Linked DNA regions of Homo sapiens: region 2 is linked to region 1. The links are contacts of gene promoters, found by promoter capture Hi-C in blood cells and fetal thymus (Javierre and others, 2016). All regions are on one chromosome and are shown on one strand. The core of a region is centred on a gene start or on the middle of the fragment in contact, and the rest is flanking DNA. Distances in the headings are between cores, read along the strand shown.

Evidence for each region. The method cuts DNA at HindIII sites, captures the fragments that hold promoters and counts their contacts. A CHiCAGO score of 5 or more calls a contact.
Region 2: a fragment that was not itself captured here is called in contact with the fragment with the promoter of GLCE in region 1 in 1 of 17 cell types (M2 macrophages); the score reaches 5.3 in M2 macrophages.

Annotation. Positions count from the first base shown.
Region 1 is chr15:69,158,056-69,164,427 of GRCh38, reverse strand. It overlaps GLCE (glucuronic acid epimerase), which reads right to left and starts at 3,793. Exons shown (of 5, transcript NM_015554.3): 1 at 3,671-3,793. It also overlaps the pseudogene LOC100421574. RefSeq lists silencers at 3,414-3,523, 3,724-3,933 and an enhancer at 3,631-4,131. The HindIII fragment of the contact is 10,275 bases long and covers 1-6,372 here.
Region 2 is chr15:69,359,525-69,365,896 of GRCh38, reverse strand. PAQR5 (progestin and adipoQ receptor family member 5) reads right to left here. Exons shown (of 9, transcript NM_017705.4): 3 at 5,766-5,931. The coding sequence starts at 5,816. Among named protein-coding and RNA genes, the nearest start is that of KIF23, 52 kb to the left of the region's middle. The HindIII fragment of the contact is 810 bases long and covers 2,559-3,368 here.

The DNA.
Region 1 (6,372 bases), core at 2,544-5,043:
TATGAAAACTGGGGCCCTGAAAGATTAAGGAATTATCCAAGGACACACCATGAGTAGCACAGTGAAGACTGGAATTCATGTCTTATGATTTCCTTTCTAGAAACTGCTTTAGTATATCATATTTATGATTCTAGAACTCTGAATGATAATTCAAAAGACACTTTGGTACTGTCATTTTCAGCAGTGTAATAATGAAACTATAAAATTATTTGTATGGTTCGTATGCTTCACAAGCAAAATATATCTATCAGATGTGTATATGTTTGACAAAAAGAAATTTCCTGAAGTCTGTACCACAATAAGAATACCTATTCCCCCACCCTATTCTCCTCTAGGAAATCTAAAAACTTCCTTTTGCAAACTCAGGAAACAATTAAATTTGATAAAAGAAAGTCCTAAAATTAATTTATCTTTACATAATTAAATATCCAACAAACTTAACATGTTTTAACATTTTACTTAGGTCTGTGTCTTTTCTTATTTTGTTGTGCTACCCACCCCACCCTGCACACCCTTATAATTTTCAGATACTTGAAATACCCTTTTCCTTCATTAGTATACACGGGTACAACTGGCAATACTGACAAAAGCCTTATAAATACTGTACATTTCACCATTTGCATAGTGACTGAAATGTTTTAATTTTAGGGTTTCTCTAACTTGTACTTAAAAGTAATGTCTGCTCATTGAAATAGATTCAAGTAATATAAAACTATAAAATTAAACCGCTCTCTTCTATGCCTCTGCAACTCCCTCCTGAAGAATCCAAACATGGTTAAGTCTGATGTGTATCCTTATAGGCTTTTGTATGCTTACGTAGCACAATCATCTACAAAGAGTCAACATACATTTAACACCTAAAACTCTACTGATTGTAATTTAATCTTTCTTTACTAATTCAGAAGGCAGTTAACTATTTTGCTTGGTTTCTTATTATCACAACACACATCAATCGTATCATCATTCAGGGGTTACTAAAAAAAGAGAGCTGAATCTTAAGTACCTTGTGTATTTCTTCCTTAGCAGTATCACAATTTTTAACTGTATTTATTTGTTTTCTTCCTCTCTCTGGACTTAAAGGGGAAAGTCACATGACAGCTTTAATCAGTGTACATCCAGCGCTGTGACACCTAGCAGATAATCAAATATGTGTTGACTTATCAGTCTATGCCTTACTTAGAAATGATGAAAGCTGCTTTTTAGAAAAAAAAAAGTTTCTGAAACCTGCTTAATTTGTTCTTTGTCTTTCTCTCAAAAAAAGGAAAAATAAGATCTGCTTACAGGTTTGGGGGCTGTCATTCCAACCAAATATCTGCTCAAGCAATCAGTTGTGATAGCTGTAAATGTCAACCAGGTATTTTGGTCTGAATAACAACAACAACAAAACTTATTTTAAACCCTTCAAAGTCTTAAATATTGCTGTGCGGGATTCCTTTGTTTTTCAAAATGATGTAAAATTCCAAAATTAAGTACATTATCCCTAATCTGTCTGGTTCTAAGATCAGAAAAAATGACATCTTTTAAAAAAAATTGTATCTAAGAGGCCTGGCATGGTGACTCACGCCTCTAAATCCCAGTACTTTGGGAAGCTGAGGCTGAAGGATCACTTGAGGCCAGGAGTTCAAGACCAGACTGGGCAACAGCGCAAGACCTTGTCTTTAATTAATTGAATAAATAAATAAATAAAATTAGTGAGGCGTGGTGGCACATGCATGTAGTTCCAGCTCCTCTACTGGGGGTGGGGATGGGAAGCTGAACTGGGAGGGCTGCTTGAGCTTTGGAGGTCGAGGCTGCAGTGAGCCATGGTAGCGATGCTACAACCTAGCCTGGAAGGCGGAATAAGTCCCTGTTTCAAAAGAAACAAACCAAAAAACAAGAAAAAAAAAAAACTGACACGAAGAAAAAGACTAAGGCAGGCAAAATTATTTGCTTTGGTATACTCAAATTTGTCTGTTAACCCCAGATTACATATTTACAGAACAGCTCTGAGTACGGACTTCACTGCCTGCCACATTAACTTTCATATACAGGCCTCTGTGATAGAGTAACTAACCAAAAGAAATGTCAGGCAAACACATAGGCTTTCTCACCTATACGCTGTTTTTTTTTTTAACCAATACACATACATACAAGTCATTTTATTTAAATCCCACCTACGCCTACGCTAGTTACCAAAACCTCTGTAATATCCAAGGCTAAATACACTTTTACAATACAATGAAACTGTTAAGCAGAATTCTCTAAAAAAGCTCGATTAACCATCCTTACAGGTCACAGAAAACGTTTTTGCAGAGTTCTAGCTTTGGGATTTCAAATTCCATTGTTTTCTGGAGGCTGAATTTGACGTTATCCCTCTCTACAAATGCTTTTCAAAGGACAGAAAGAAGCCAGACAGAACACGCTTCCCTGCACTATCCGACTCTGCCTAACATTCACTCAGGCAAGACTTCAGAACAGATCTAATCATGCAGGATGAGCAAAGCAGACCACCACCTAGGAAAGCAAGCCAAAATCAGTCTTCCCCACCCTCAACAGATTCCAGTTGCTCAGGAGCTGTATCCACGCTCAACCTGCGGACACCGGCCTCCTAAAGAACCTGCAGACCAAACGCCCACCTAAGGTGCTGCCACTCTAGCTCCCGGAGCTCCAGCGAGACCAGCGCGCCCCCACAGGGATCCCGGGGCAGAGAAAAGAAAACTGCAGAACAAACGCACTGCTTCTTCAACTAGGCAACAACACCGATCAATCCTCCAACTAAGCATTGAGTAAATCTCATCCAGAGAGAAGGAGACCTGAACAAAAACGTTTCAGGATGCTGCCCAGCCTGCGCGGTAGCACCAAAGCCCTCTCCCGCCCTCAGCGGACCCAGCGCCTGCGGAGCCGCGCCCACCCCGAGAGACTGCCCGGGGGCCAGCTAACTCGCCCCGTCGCCCCCAAAAGACTGGAGACCATGCCAAGTTACCGCCCCGCTCCGGGCAAAGCAGAAACCCCGGCCAGACGCTGGTCGCCGCTACACACCCTCAGCCCCCAACAACCCCCCAAGGCGGCCCCGGCCCCAGCGGAACGGATACATCGCTCTCTCACCCGGAGACACCGATGAACAGACCCCTCTCCCCAGAACCCGGACACACTGCTTCTTCATCCCAGCAATGCGAAACGGACGCCCACGCCCGCTCAAAGAACCCCCAAGACCCCGATGATCTGCCTCCAGAGACAAGGTTTACACCGGTGTAAACCTTGCTAAACTGCATTCTCTGCCCCAAAGAGCTCGGGACCCGGGTAAAAAGACCCCTTGTCCCGGAACCCCGCTACACCACCTCCAAGAAGCTCAAGACCCTGATAAATCTCCCTCGACGTCAAAGACCTAGGACCCCGTGTGCCGCCACCCACCCCTACCCCAAGCCGGAAGAGCCCCCAGGATCCCTAATACATTGCCCCCTCACCTCGGGAGCTCCGGCACCCGCTACACCGCCCTTGGGCGCCCGCGCCCGGATCCCACTGCACCGCCTCCTCGCCCCCCGGACTCCCAAACCCCGCCAAGCCTCGCGCCCACCAGGCAGCGCCGCGCAGCCCCCAGAGCCGCCCCCGTCAGGAGCCCGCCTGCTCCGGCTGCTCCGTGTCCCCGCTCCCCGACCGCTCCTCAGCGGAGACGCGCTCCGGGCTTTCTAACCTGAGCAGCGTCGGAGGGCGAGCAGACACGGGAGCCCTGAGGAAGAGAAGGAGACAGCAGAGAAGGGGTGGCTCAGGCCTGCGGTGCCGCAGCTCCAGCCTCTCGGCAAGGAAGCGCTTGTGTGAGGAGAGCCCTCCCGCTCCGCGCGCAGCCGGGAGACCGAGCCACCGCCGTGCCCGCAGCTCTTCCCGCGAGATCCCAGCCACGGCAAGGGGCGGGGCCACGGCGGGGGGCGGTAGCGGCAGCTCCTCGAGTGACAGTCCTGGCAGCCTGTCGGCTGCAGGACGGGCGGCAGGACTCGGAGTCTACTACGACCAATTGTAAAAAAGGAAAGGTGATTCTCCCCGCCCCTTCTCCGCCCCTCTTCTTCTCCGCTCCTCCTTAATAAACTGTGAGCAAAGGTAGTAGTGACCAGAAGTAGTAGGAGGCAGTGGACTTTCGCGGTAAGGTAGCTCGAATGACGTGACGTGCTTGGCTTGTGTGTGGTCCTGCTAGGCCGCCGTAGATACACCTGGTTTGGGGAAGAGGCTGGTCTTCACACCGGTGTAAACCGAGGTGCGGTTACCCTTGGTTACAGCGCTGCCCGAAGTGCGCTGGGGATTCCCATCTTCCAGGTTGAAGGCCCACCCACTCCGGTTACCCGCGTCTAAACCTCCATTTAATTCCTTTCCCCGATTTGGGCCTCTCCTCCCTCTCCACCTCAAACAGGGCACCATTGTTAAGATGCCCATGTTTTCCAAACCCCAACCCAGGACATCTGGTCTGACAAAGAACTCGTCTGATGACTGTATTTATTTCTACATACAGCCTTCCAGAAGAATGAAAAGCAAATCTCGAGTTACCAACATAACAAATTCCAAAATTAATGAAAAGTCGTACCTTTATAGACCCCAGTGCCCAGTAGTATTTGGCACACCCAGGGCACTGAATAATGTGAAAGGAATGAATTAAGACTGTTAAATATATGCAAATCTCGAGTTACCAACATAACAAATTCCAACATTACATGAAAAGTCGTACCTTTGTAGACCCCAGTGCCCAGTAGTATTTGGCACACCCAGGGCACTGAATAAGGTGAAAGGAATGAATTAAGACTGTTATACTTAAATATATTAAATCTGGACCTGGCCCCAGAAAATTCGGCTTTCCTAGCCTTTCCTCTATAATGTGAGCCAGTGGCTTCACCCTTAAATCCAGGCTCTTCATTATTATGCCTATCCTGTACCTTCATTCATCTTACCCTCTTCACTCCCTCACCCACAGCAAGAAGTGCCCTTTCTCCTCAAGGTTAAATCTTGCACCTGTGCCCTGGATCCCAGCCATTCCCAGATTTTATTCAGCTATTCTTTCTTTCCCCATTATTAATTTCTTCCTCTAACCTAAATCTTTCTCCCACAAACATAGTCTCGCCCATCCTTTGAACAGAACAAAGCCACCCAATCTCTTCCACCCAAACTACCTTCTCCTTTCTCCTAGGAATCACACTTCTTGGGAAACATTATATTTGCTGCTGAGCACTGTGGCTCATGCCTGTAATCCCAGCACCTTGGGATGCCAAGGTGGGAGGATTGCTTGAGGCCAGGAGTTTGAAACCAGTCTGGGAACATAATAAGGCTCCCCTATATGCAAAAAATAAAAAACTAGCCGGGTGTGGTGGCACACACCTATAGTCCCAGCTATTCGCGGTGGGGGAGGCGGGGTGCTGAGATGGGATGATCGCTTGAGTGTGGGAGGTTGAGGCTGCAGTGTACTGTGACCAAGCCACTGCACTCCAGCCTGGGCCACAGATTGAGGCCCTGTCTCTAAATAAATAAATAAAAGTATACTTGTTGTCTCCACTTTCTCATCTCTTATTTTTCCCACTACAGCGTTGCTTTTGCTCACACAATCTGCTATTCTTTCAATGGTTACAAAAGACCTCTTACCTTCTAGAATAATGGTCTATTTTGGGGTATCTTTCTCATGACCTCTCTCAGCTTATTGACAATGCTGACATCTCTTCCCTTAGTAGCTGCCTAACTACATTCTCCTGATTCTTTGGCAACTCTTCTTTTTTTTTTTTTTTTCCCTGTCCCTTGTCCTGGTTTGAAAACTTGCATATTTATGTCTCCTTATCTTATAGCCACACCTTGTGCATAATATGAAAAATGGCCACACACAGTTGCACACTTTGAGTGCCAATAAGTGGCTGAGACAAAAGCTGTTAGAAGAGTCCAGAGGAGGAGACATGGCTGTGAGGCTTGAGCTGGGTCATAATGAAACACTACGTTGGCCATATAAATCCAAGGCAGAAACGGAGGCCTTTCAGAGGAGAAAAATAATGTGAACCTGAGCACAGAGAAAAGGATGTGGGCTGAGCCTGGGCTGTAGGTCGACAGGTTTGACAGATAGAAGATTCCTGCAGAGAGTAGCGGGAGGTAAGATTAGAGAAAAATCAAATAGTAAAAGGCCTTAAAAATCAGGCCAAGCCGATTTGACTTGGATTCCATATTAAATGGGGAGCCGGGACCAATTTTAATATTTGTAGGGACCATGAGAAGGCTACACATGGAGACCCACATACCAAATGTCTAAATATGTGAAAGTTAAAAAGCTAACAAATGGAGTACTAAAAGCATTATATCCTTTCACCTTGACAAATGTACTTTCATAACAACTTGGAAGACCCAGTTTGAATTGAGAATTCTGAGACTTCTCAGAGC
Region 2 (6,372 bases), core at 1,714-4,213, 200 kb before region 1:
AGTTGTTCCCTGCATAACTCCAGAGGTTGCCATTCACGTAGACTAAAAGGGAAATGGTGCCCCCTTAGAGTTGGGCAATATGGTGGCTCCGCCCAGGTAATTTCACAGACAAATTCTACCAACTACTCGGGAATGTATAATTCTAATATTAGATATTTTTCCCCATAGAATAAATAGGCAGCAATCTCCAACTCACTTGTGGTTGGCGTAACCTGAATCCCAAGTCCAGGCAAGGACAGCATAAGAAGAAAACATTATAGGCCAACTCATTAATAGACTTAAAGATCCTGAACAAAATATTAGCTAACTGACTCTAGCAATAGATTAAAGAGATCTATCACAATCAAGCTGTATTTAAACCAAAAACAAAAAATTGGTTTAACATTAGCAAATTAATCAGTGTATCACCACACTAACAACTTAAATGAATCATATATGATCATCTCAAAAGATGATAGGAATAAAGAGTTCTATAAAATTCATAAAGGAGGCTGGGCACGGTGGCTCACGCCTGTAATCCCAGCACTTTGGGAGGCTGAGGCAGGTGGATCACCTGAGGTCAGGAGTTTGAGACCAGCCTGGCCAACATGATGAAACCCCATCTCTATTAAAAAATACAAAAATTAGCCAGGGATGGTGGCACTTGCCTGTAGTCCCAGCTACTTGGGAGGCTGAGGCATGAGAATCGCTTGAACCTGGGAGGCAGAGGTTGCGGTGAGCCGAGATTGCGCCACTGCACTCCAGCCTGGGTGACAAAGCAAGACTCTGTCTCTAAATAAATAAATAAAATAAAATAAAATAAAATAAAATAAAATAAAATAAAATAAAATAAAATAAAATAAAATAAAATTCATAAGGGAAGGCCAGATGCGGTGGCTCACGCCTGTAATCCCAGCACTTTGGGAGGCCAAGGCAGGTGAATCACGAGGTCAGGGGTTCAAGACCAGCCTGGCCAAGATAGTGAAACCCCATCTCTACTAAAAATACAAAAACTAGCTTGGTGTGGTGGCGGACACCTGTGATCCCAGCTACTTGGGAGGCTGAGGCAGAGAATTGCTTGAACCTGGGAGGCGGAGGTTGCAGTGAGCCGAGATCTTGCCACTGTACTCCAGCCTGGGTAACAGAGCAAGACTCCATCTCCAAAAAAATAAAAAAAATTATGAGGGAAAAAATCCTAGCAAACTAGAATATGAAGTGATACCCTTAATCTGATAAAGATGAAAAGATTACTTATACACACACACACACACACAGCAACCATATTAAATGGTGAAATGTTAAAAGCATTTCTTTTCATTAAAACCAAGAACAATACAAAGATGCCTGCTATCACAACTCGTTATATATATATAACATATATAATGTATATATATTACATATATAATGTATATATATAACATATATAATGTATATATATTACATATATAATATATATTACATGTATATAATATATATATATATTTGTTTTGTTTTGTTTTGTTTTTGGAGACAGAATGGTGATTGCTTTAAAATCACCCACCTCGGCATCCCAAAGTGCTAGGATTACAGGTGTGACCCACCGAGCCCTGCTTCTATCATATTTTAATAAGCTACCAGGTAATTCTGACATTGGTGATCTAAGCACTCTCTCTGAATAGCACTGGGCTGGAGAAACCATTTACCTGTTGAGATGGCTCCTTGTTCCCAGTGCCTGAGCCCACCTACCAAACACCTATGCCAGACACTGATCTGGCTGTGCTTCCTTCATTCATAATAATCCCACTGTTCTATTTCATTTTTATTGGATCTTCACAATTGCCCTGTGAGACTGACTTAACAGGAGTCACTTCCATCTTACAGATAAGAACACTGAGACTAAGTTTATGACTGTGTGGCAGAGCTGCAGTGCAAGTCTGGAAACGGCGTTGCTTTTCCTCTCTGTGTAGACCACTGCCTCAGGGAATCCTCCTGTCCATGCCCCTAAACTAAGGCATCTGGGACTATGGGATGTGTTTACCTGTAGCCTGTGAGTCAAGGCTGTAGTTATTTAAAGCTTAGCAATTTGTCTGGGTTCAGTGGCTCACACTTGTAATCCCAGAACTTTGGGAAGCTGAGGCAGGCGGATCACTTGAGGTCAGGAGTTCGAGACCCAGCCTGGCCAACATGGTGAAACCCTGTTGTTACTGAAAATGCAAAAAGTATCTGGGCATGGTGGCGTGCACCTGTAGTCCCAGCTACTTGAGAGGTTGAGGCAGGAGAAGGAGAATCGCTTGAACCTGGGAGGCGGAGGTTGCAGTGAGTCATGATAGTGCCACTGCACTCCAGCCTGGGTGACAGAGCAAGACTCTGTCTCAAAAAAAAAAAAAAACAAAAACAAAAAACAGATTAGCAATTTGACACTCGATGTTCTTGTTTCCTGGCAAAGTGTCACGCCATGTTGCATATGAACTTGTTGTCTTTTTTCTAGGCCTCTCTGTTTTGTCTCTAAAGGGGTCTGTGTAAGAATCAACATCTAGATAATTATTCCATTCCTTGAGGTTTTGTTCACATCTTTAATGACCCTCTGATGTACCCAAGCTTAGTTTTGGACACAAGGGAGACTAAATATTATGAGGCATACACACAAATTCTGCCTTCTGAGGGAAGAGAGAAACTGCCCTTTTCCATGAACAATCTATCAGCCAGGAATGCACCAAGAATGGACCAGGATTACAACTCTGATGATGCAGAGAGGTGGGCACACCATTCCCTATAGATGGCTGAGGCCCAGACAGGGTAGTGAAGTGGCCCAGGTCACATAGCTGGCTGATACACAAAAGGAGAGGCAGCTGTACAGAGCAGCTTGTAGAGGTACAACCAACAGCTGAAGGAGCTCGGGGAAGGGAGCAGGCACCTGCCACTCCATAAAAAAGGAAGTCACAAAGGGGGAGCAAAGGTTGGGGAGAGGAAAGCCTTCTTCAAACAGAAATCAAGACAAGTGAAGGTTGCATCTCCTGGGGAGAATAAAGAGAAGAGGGTCTGTGGATGGGACGTGGTGGAAGAGGTGGGGAGGGATCAGGCTGGTGAAGGTGGTGAACAGCAGGCGAGGGAGCCGGGGTTCGAGTCTATGGACAGGGCCTCTGAAGTCTCCTGCCAGCATGCTCTACCCCTCAAAGTGCCCTAAAGAGCCTAGGAGAGAATGCTAATAATGACAACCAACATTATTAATTGTTCACCACGTGCCAGGCACTTCACTTGGGTTATCTCATTTAATTCTCACAACCCCAGGAGGCAGATACTGTTGTCATTCCCATTTTACAGAAGCCAAAGCTGAGGTAGAGAGATTATCTTGCTTGAGGCCACTCTAAAAACCAAGTATTGGAACCCACAGATCCCACCAAAGGTAAGCTTTAACAATTGTATGAAGTATCCTATTTTAAATATTCATGTAAATTGTGCATTCCATTTTTAATACCTGTGCATCTGTTTTAATACTAATAAATGTCTTTGCCCCCAAATCCTCAGGTAAAACTACCCTCCAGGCAGGCAGAGCCACTATATTTTCTCTATGGCTTCATGAACCCTGGGCATGATGCCCAAAAACCCAATAGTGGATGCTGGAGCCCAAGGCAGATTTTGAAGCAAACGGTGGCTGCAAAGTGTGATGTTGGTCTTCTGCCTCTAGCTAGTGCCATTTCACTAAAGATATCATCATCCTCTAACTTACGAAAAACTGGACAGAGAGGACATGTTCATCTTTCTCCCTTAGCCTCTGCCAGGGTTGTCCAGCCCTGACATTCAGAATCTCCATACATTCAGATTCCCAGCAGGTTACCCAAAGGACCTATTGATACCACTCTGCCCCCTTCACTTCTTTCCTGCGGACATACTCTGAATCCAACCCTGACCAAAATGTCCAGAAAGATATCTAAGCAGACTCCCATAACCTCTACCCCCAAGACGCTCCCCAGTCCCCCCACCATCACCACCTGCCCCATGATCTCCCATCTCTAGGCCTTTGCTCACACTGCTCCTTCCACCTGGAATGCTCTCCCCACTTCCACAATCCTGTCCACCCCTCAGATCACCCCCTTCATGAAGCCTTCCCTGATCACTTCCTCCCTGATATAATTTGGCTCTGTGTCCCCATTCAAATCTCATCTGAAATTGTAATCCCTATAATTCCCACATGTCAAGGGAGGAACCTGGTGGGAGGTGATTGGATCATGGGGGTGTTGTCCCCCAAACTGTGAGTGAGTTCTCTTGAGACCTGATGGTTTCATAAGTGTCTGACAGTTCCTCCTTCACATCATGCTCTCTCTTGCCTACTGTCATGTAAGACGTGCCTCTTCCCTCATGATTGTAAGTTACCTGAGGCCTCCACAGCCATGAGGAACTGTGAGTCAATTAGACCTCTTTTCTTTATAAATTACCAGGTTTCAGGCAGTTCTTTATAGCAGTGTGAGAATGGACTAATACACTCCCTCGTGATGGAAGTGACCAATCCCTTCTCTGAAACAATCACCCTGTCTTAAGATAGACCCTAACCCACTTTAGAAAAGAATTTCTCATGCACATTTAAAAATCTTCCTGACCAACATATGAGTCACGCAAGGACAGGATTTGTATGTAATTATTCTCTGAATCCCTTGCACATAGTAGGCAGTCAATACAAATTTCATGAGTAAATAAATTCAAGAATCACACTGTGTTCCCACTAATCACAGCTGCTAATGCTCTATGGGTAGAACCAACCAGCAAAGTGCACCAAAAGGAGAAGGTGATTGCCCTGTGAGAACAGAGGCAGGTGCTCTGCCCAGTGTCATGGGAGACAGCCACACGTGTAGCTTGCCTATTACTTGCCACATTCCTCAGCTCACCCCACCAAACAGCTCTGCACCACTTACGGTTTTCCCCCATGCCATCTTCCTGGAATCACCTGGCTTCACAGGCTTTTAGGGTTAGGGTTTGGCAATTTCCCCCTCAACCTTCCATTGGTGATGTTGAGTTTATTTCAAACTTATTTTTCTGGGGCAAGTCATAAGTGCTTGGTAATCAGCCAAGCCAAGTAGAACTCTCCTCCACTCTGTCACATCTTCCCAAAGAAACTTCCCACCATGAAATGACACCCACTTTTCTTAGTCAAAAAGGAAGGAAATTTGACATCAACAAAGGGGTGCAACACAATGATGTTTCCTTTGCAAGAGAAGGAGGAAGTGCACCAGTTCTCTGTAGCACACAACCAGGCTCACCTATGGCTTAGTAAAGCAGATCATCAGTGAGTCTCACATATTTCAGGGTACCTGCCTGTGAGCTCCCAGGCCCATGGGTCCACTAAAGGGCAATGCTAAGGCTCATTCAACAACCCTCCCCATCGCCCCAGTGAAGGCCTGGCCTGGGCATCCTGCAAGTAATGGGGATGAGCAAAGCCATGACCTGGTGTGCCTTTGCCCATAGCCTGCTTTCAAGCACCCATAGGAGGGGCCTGAAAAAATAAACTTCCTACCCAGCCAGCTGCTGCTGGCTTTATCTCTTCAGGTTGAATCTCAGTAATGACTTTGCTTCTGGATAACACACAGATGTTGCAAGGAAGGGTTACAACTTAAACAACTTTGGGAATACTTCCATTTCAAGGTAGGTGGGGGAAGTAGGAGGCTGTAATATCCCCCAAGGAAGTGTGGGAAGGGGTCCTTGAAGGGAATGGGCCTGTACAGAACAGACTAGGTGAAGACAACAGCCCCCCATTGCGGAGGCCAAGCCCTGGTCACACTCTGGAAATGAACCATCATAATCAATAGAGCACATACCTGGGGTATCTGGTCTATGCTAAACAGCCTGGGGAGCTTCAGGCTCAGCATCTTGGAGCTGGATTGGCAAGGCCAGTAGGTGACAGCGCCTCCCTGTTACCAGGCCTCACTCAAAGCTCTAACATGGCCTGGGGCGTCTCTGCCTAGCTGGTGCTGTGCCGCTTCCCTGAAAGAGGACAGCATGAAGAAATCCAGTCAGTTTCAGCCTAACTCCAGCTGGGTCAGGACAGTCAGCTTGTTCAACTATTGAACATATACTTGCTACACATGATGGCACAAGATCAAGCTTCCTTAAAAACAGCAAAATGATCAGACTGCTGAGTCATCCACTCCAAGAGTGCTGGAGGGAGGTAATTAATAATAAGGGAGGAGACCACCCCTCATATTGTCTTATGCCCAATTTCTGCCTCCAAAGAAAGAAAAAGTAAAATCTAAAAGGCAGAAATGAAATCCACAAGCAGACAGCCGGCACCACACCCTGGGCCTGGTAGTTAAAGATTGACCCCTGATCTAATCAGTTATGTTATCTATAGATTACAGACATTGTATAGAAAAGCACTGCGAAAATCCATATCCTGTTTTGTTCCCATCTAATTACCAGTGCATG